2 separate regions of the Homo sapiens genome follow, and region 2 is linked to region 1. The links are contacts of gene promoters, found by promoter capture Hi-C in blood cells and fetal thymus (Javierre and others, 2016). All regions are on one chromosome and are shown on one strand. Each heading gives the region's core, a stretch centred on a gene start or on the middle of the fragment in contact. The rest is flanking DNA. Distances are from core to core; before and after follow the strand shown.

Region 1 (3,255 bases), core at 133-2,632:
GAAAGAGTTTCCTTTTAATACATGAGTAATCATATTTTACTAAATTATTTGCTTCCACACTTTGCATAACTGACCATAGTTGTTTTTAAAGAAAGAATATGCCATTGCAATTTATAGAAATACAGCACAAGCCAAAACATTGTAAAGTCTATATATGTTTTCATTTTTTTCTTCTTGAAGTTTATATGAACAAAAGGAGTTATTATGAACAAAAAGTTATTAAATTTTTTCTTTCCTGAGATGTTGTTAGGCGTACATAGGAAAAAGATTGTATTAATTTATTCACAATTCTAAAAGTCTTTTTTTGTCTTTTTTAGAGTAGAATAGTATACTTTAGAAAATTGTACATGTGAATTTCAGAGAAAATGTTAATATAAAGAATTCTAATTCACTTAAGAAATTTTAAATATTATATGACCTTTTTCTTGTTCTTATAGGAGTGGTTAGAAAAGAAAAATGTGTATTTACATGAAATGCACAGAATAAAAAGAATTGAAAGTGAAAACTTAAGGATCCAAAATGAACAGGTATTCTGACATATAGAAGTAAAAATGTTTTGGATTTTTATTTCAGTAAAATATCCCTGAATATATAACTTTTCTAAATCAGCTTTTTAAATGGCAAAATAACTTGTATATTAAAGAAATGATTTCCGGTTTTACTTCTGTTTTACTTTATACATTTTAGTTTGATATAACTGTTTTACATGAAAACAGATTTTAATTTTGTATATGTATAGGATAGCTTTGTTCCTGCTGATTATGAAGTTATTATTGTTTATGAGCACCTAATTCACTTTTAAAAGTTGATTTCATTTAGAACTTAACCAAGAAGGCCAGGTACTGTGGCTCATGCCTGTAATCCCAGCACTTTGGGAGGCCAAGGCAGATGGGATTCCTTGAGGTCTGGAGTTCGACACCAGCCTGGGCAATGTGGTGAAACCCCATCTCTACTAAAAATACAAAAATTAGCCAGGGATGGTGGTGGGCACCTGTAATCCCAGCTACTCAGGAGGCTGAGGTGGCAGGATCACTTGAACCCGGGAGGCGGAGGTTGCAGTTAGCTGAGATCGTGCCACTGTACTCCAGCCTAGGTGACAGAGACTCTGTCTCAAAAAAAAAAAAAAAGGCACGACAAGATAAAGGATCATTAGACACTAGTTAGCCTTCAATTTTCCTCTTTTCTCTCTTGAATTTTATAAGTATCTTCAAGTCCAACCCCTACCTGAACTCTTGATCTGTATCCTTTCCCATTGAATGGAGGTGAACTTTTGTTCCTGTCTCTTCTGTACTGAGTCTCTTCCTCTAACTCCTGCTTGTAATACGCTCAGTTATTTCTTATCTTCTAAAGTCAAACTTCTGGACAAAAACTCCAGTGTGCTGTTCAATACTAAAAATAGATTTAGAAGAAAAATATTTTCCAAGGTGAACTGCACGATAATGCGTCAGTAGTGAAGGGAGCAGCCCTCCAGGGGGCGTGCCTGTCTATCTGTTAACCACGTTCATAGCAGTATGCTGCTGTGGTCAGTGCCATACCCCTTCTCATTTGATTTTCGTAGCTCTGTGAGGTAGATAGTACTTTGACCTCTAAATTATGTTACCCCAATATTAAGGTTTTATGTCATTTAATATTGAACAATAAAGCAAACATAGAATATTATGGGATTAGATTGAAGGAAGTAAAATAATAACATAACTTGCTATACAGTCTCCAACCTATTTTTCAGTCGAGCACATACTTTCAACATTTGGAATACATTTGTGCAGTAAGAACTTTATGTTTTGATACTATTCAAAATTAAGATTTAAACCAAAAATCTGCATCTTACTGCATGGCTTGGCCAATTTGCCTTACTCTAACTTACTTTATAAGCCCATAACTTTACTGATTTTTTTTTCAAATATTTTATTATGAAAATTTTACTATACCACTTAGCCTATTACAGTTTATTTTGATATAATTTGTTTAGTACACTTTCAAAAATAATAGTTGACATCTTTCTCATTAATAGGTCAATATGTGATAAATGTTTTTAGAAAAGGACGTTTTAAAACCAATGAATAATTCAGATAACATTCTTTGTAAATTATCTAAGCCATTCTAAATAAATTACCTACTTTGAAAGTTAATTTCTAAGTATAATGAATATCAGAGGACTAAAGATAAATGTATATGTGTATATTTATATCTAGCCATATTTGTGTCTATGTATATATACATATATATGTATATCACTCTATTATTTTTTCCACTGTAGAAAAAAGCTGCTAAAAGAGAAGAAGCATTAGCATCATTTGAGGCCTGGAAGGCTATGAAAGAAAAGGAAGCAAAGAAAATAGCTGCCAAAAAGAGGCTTGAAGAAAAAAACAAGAAGAAAACTGAAGAAGAAAATGCTGCAAGAAAAGGAGAAGCACTACAAGTATTCAGAACTTTGCACATCTTAATTATTTTAAAACATTTGAAATCCAAATTAATGATTAACCATATTTTTATTTATTTTCAAATATTCACAGTAAGAAAATTATTCTGAACTTTTTCAGGCTTTTGAAAAATGGAAAGAGAAAAAGATGGAATATCTTAAAGAGAAAAATAGAAAGGAGAGAGAATATGAAAGAGCAAAGAAACAGAAAGAGGAGGAAACTGTTGCCGAGAAAAAGAAAGATAATTTAACTGCTGTTGAGAAATGGTAATCCAAAATCATAAATATTTTGATATATTTTAAATTATAGTAACACTTCAGGATTTTATAAAATTTATTTACTTGAAATTTAGTAATGCATTTCAATTTCATTACTGTCAAAGATGTACTAGGGAATCTTTATTATGTATTTTCCTTTAACTCTCCAGTGTTTTATACTATGCTCTATAGGAATGAAAAAAAGGAAGCTTTTTTCAAGCAAAAGGAAAAAGAAAAAATAAATGAGAAAAGAAAGGAAGAACTGAAAAGAGCTGAGAAAAAAGATAAAGATAAACAAGCTATTAATGAATATGAAAAATGGCTGGTAGGTATTATTTGTCAATGCACTTTCGTCTTTTTCATGTACCTTTTGTGTCTTTTCTGTCCCTAATTCTAATTCTATTTGCTCCAGACCTACTGATCATTTCTACCTGGAATCTGCTTTGTTGAATTCAAGCTCTCCTCCTGCATATAGCATATTTTCTTTGACTTAGTCATTTCTATTAATGTTTCTACTATTCCCTCAAACACCCAGGCTGAAAACTTGTTATAATCTTCTTCCTTACCTGCATCCCCAC
Region 2 (3,074 bases), core at 556-3,055, 380 kb after region 1:
TCTGAGGCTACAAACGCTATAAGGACTAGGTGCCTGCTTCTAAAACCCCCAGAGTTTAGTAAGAAAATGATCAAGTCAGACCACAAAGGTGACCCGGATGTCAAGATTGGCAAAAGTGTCACCAAAATGAGGTTGAAGGTGTTTTTGCTTTGGAACAACTATCCCAGTAAATAAGCAGTGCAACAGACACGTGCTATCAAGGGGCCCGTGAGGAGCTGTGGCTCTCCAAAGCCTCCCAGTTTTCTCAGGGAGATGGTCCTGACATTTTGTTGTCAGTGAGAAACCTCCAGGCCAGGAAGCAAAGAGCTCAGTGGCTTCACATTGCACTTGATTTTGCCAGGGGTCCTCAGCTCCAGCCCCACCTCCCTTTTATATTCTGCTCTATGCTGTAGGGCTTGGATCTGCCAACTCCAGATCTCAGACTTCATTGACAACTGGTTTCATTGCAGGGCAAGAAATAAATCCTTTTCTCCCCAACCCCTCCCCACAAGAAAACACTTAAGGAAAACAATATTCCTCAAGATGCCTGATCTATTGACAAAAGAACAAACTTTTAAAACTATCTTACAGATGGTTTGAAGTATCTCAACAGTGTCAGCAAATTCTGTGCATAAGATCACATTGAAATTACAGAGGGAGTTATAAAAACAATTTCATGCCTGAGTCCCACCCTGAGATACAATGATTTAACAAGAGTGGGGTATGGCCTGGTCAGTGGGATTTTATTAAAGCTTCCTAGAAGATTCTAACATGCAGTGAGGTTCAAGCACCAGTGAAAATCACTATATTAGATCACAGGCTTTTGGTTTTCTACCAAACAATATATCAATTTATTCTATAATTTCATTTTTACTAAAAGTAAAAAATTACTTATCAATTAAATAGTGGAATCAAAACATGGAGTCTGAAGACCTGGGCCTCAGCTCTGCCAGTATATCTATGGAGGCTTGGAAAACCCTCAAGCTCTTCTGGGCCTCTGCTTCCTCAGCTATAATACAAAAGGAAGAAACTAAGATTTAATGACCAACAGGTATGTTCTCCCAGCACTGTGAAATATTGTCTCATTTACCCTGCAGTCAATTTTGTGACTACTTATCCCATTGTTATAGATGAGAAGACTGGATACCAGAATAGTAAGCAATTTTCCAAGGCCACATAACTGCTAAGTGTGAAACGTAGGGATTGAAACCTGACTTGACTGACCCCCATGTCCAGGCTCATTCTGCCAACCTCAGGATGCTGTCTAGAGTCCCCTGGAGCCTTAAAATTTTGGATGAATGTCAGCTATCAATGTAATCAAAACTAGCATGTGTTCAGGAGTGTTTTTGTATCTCAGGGTAAACATTAGGAAGAAGTTGACACATTTTATTCTTTGTCCAAAAGGGTCAAGTGACAGACACTATTAAAAAAAAGATCCTTCTACTTAATGAGATTTAATAACGCCCTAGACTCAGGGGCTTATATGCATGAAACATAACTGCAAATGTGACTCAAGTAAGAAAAGTCAGCAGATGAATTAATGAAAAACAGAAACAAAAGAAATAAGAAGAGATAACAACACTAGGAAGATGCTCAATATAAATATCTAGTGATACATACTAATGTGCAATATGTCTCTTCAATATGGACTTTGTAACTATTTTTTTGAAATGTTGAAACAACATTACTAATATAAGAGAGAAAAAATATTGTATTAGAATGATAACTAGAAAAATAGGAGACTATGGAATTATTTTAACATCATAACAAATAGTTATAATGGTTTCGTTAGACATATTGAATAGATCATTGCTCTCAAAGGAAGCACAAACCGAAATCTTTGGTCTAAGCCCTGAGTATAAAGGATTTTTAACCAAGCAAATTACCAATTAGATATATGGTTCATGCTGAAGTTCATTTTAAGTATCTCCCAACATCATTAGACATTCCTAATAATAAATCATCAGTCCCTTCGTGAGTGTTGTAGAAAACTTGAGGAGAAGAAAAATAAAGGCTACATTGGGAAATAATCATCAGATAAATGCATTCTTTTCTTTATGTCTAGCCTACCCTGCAGAAACCACTCAAACTTCTCCATGGCAATTCATTATTCACTCACCTGACAGTTTTATTTTAGACTTAAAAAAATTTGCTGAACAAAAGAAATGTCATTTGAATAGACTTGAACCATTCCAAGGGGAATAGTTTAGGGACATACCAGTCATTGTCCAGTTTCTTCAACTTTGCATTTAACCTATATTTGTGCAATTAACCTATACCATCTAAAGATGCTTGGAAAGTTAGTTTTATTACCTTTTTATAGGCATACTACCACTAGGACGATTAAAACACAACAACACAATGTTAAAAGGGAAGGGTTAGAAGATGAATACAGAGAATGAGTAAATGCTTCAAACTCACCACATAACATCAATTATTAGATACAATAATCTCTCAGAAAATAAAGTTGAAGATAACATCCAACAAGAGCAATTTCTCCACCAGGTTCTATGGAAACATCAGGGCCCATAGTGCTAAGAGACATTTCTCATTAAAAGGGCTTTATGGGCCGGGCGCGGTGGCTCATGCCTGTAATCCCAGCACTTTGGGAGGCCGAGGCGGGCGGATCACGAGGTCAGGAGATCGAGACCATCCCGGCTAAAACGGTGAAACCCCGTCTCTACTAAAACTACAAAAAATAGCCAGGCGTAGTGGCGGGCGCCTGTAGTCCTAGCTACTTGGGAGGCTGAGGCAGGAGAATGGCGTGAACCCGGGAGGCGGAGCTTGCAGTGAGCCGAGATCCCGCCACTGCACTCCAGCCTGGGCGACAGAGCGAGACTCCGTCTCAAAAAAAAAAAAAAAAAAAAAAAAGGGCTTTATGACAAGTTTGAGAAGCTTTAATATTTTTATACTAAATATTATAAAATTCTAATATATCATTCAGTTAAAAACATTACACTTTAAATTTTATATAGTCCCATGTTTCCCAAACGTATGTGAACTTGAAAGTTTTTTCCACACATCTATCGAATCTATCATGAATTAATACTCTAGACTATATAGCTTGGGTTTCTAACTTCAAGTATACTTTTCCA

The links. Contacts are between HindIII fragments. The CHiCAGO score rates a contact against its expected background, and 5 or more counts as called.
Region 2: a contact is called between a fragment that was not itself captured here and the fragment with the promoter of MAP9-AS1 in region 1, in 1 of 17 cell types (endothelial precursors). The highest score is 6.6, in endothelial precursors.

Annotation. Positions count from the first base shown.
Region 1 is chr4:155,352,343-155,355,597 of GRCh38, reverse strand. It overlaps MAP9-AS1 (MAP9 antisense RNA 1), which reads right to left and starts at 1,382. Exons shown (of 3, transcript NR_125937.1): 1 at 1,225-1,382. It overlaps MAP9 (microtubule associated protein 9), which reads left to right. Exons shown (of 14, transcript NM_001039580.2): 10 at 438-527; 11 at 2,258-2,419; 12 at 2,541-2,686; 13 at 2,870-3,002. The HindIII fragment of the contact is 4,107 bases long and covers 1-2,888 here.
Region 2 is chr4:154,967,961-154,971,034 of GRCh38, reverse strand. No RefSeq gene overlaps it. Among named protein-coding and RNA genes, the nearest start is that of RBM46, 190 kb to the right of the region's middle. The HindIII fragment of the contact is 2,143 bases long and covers 734-2,876 here.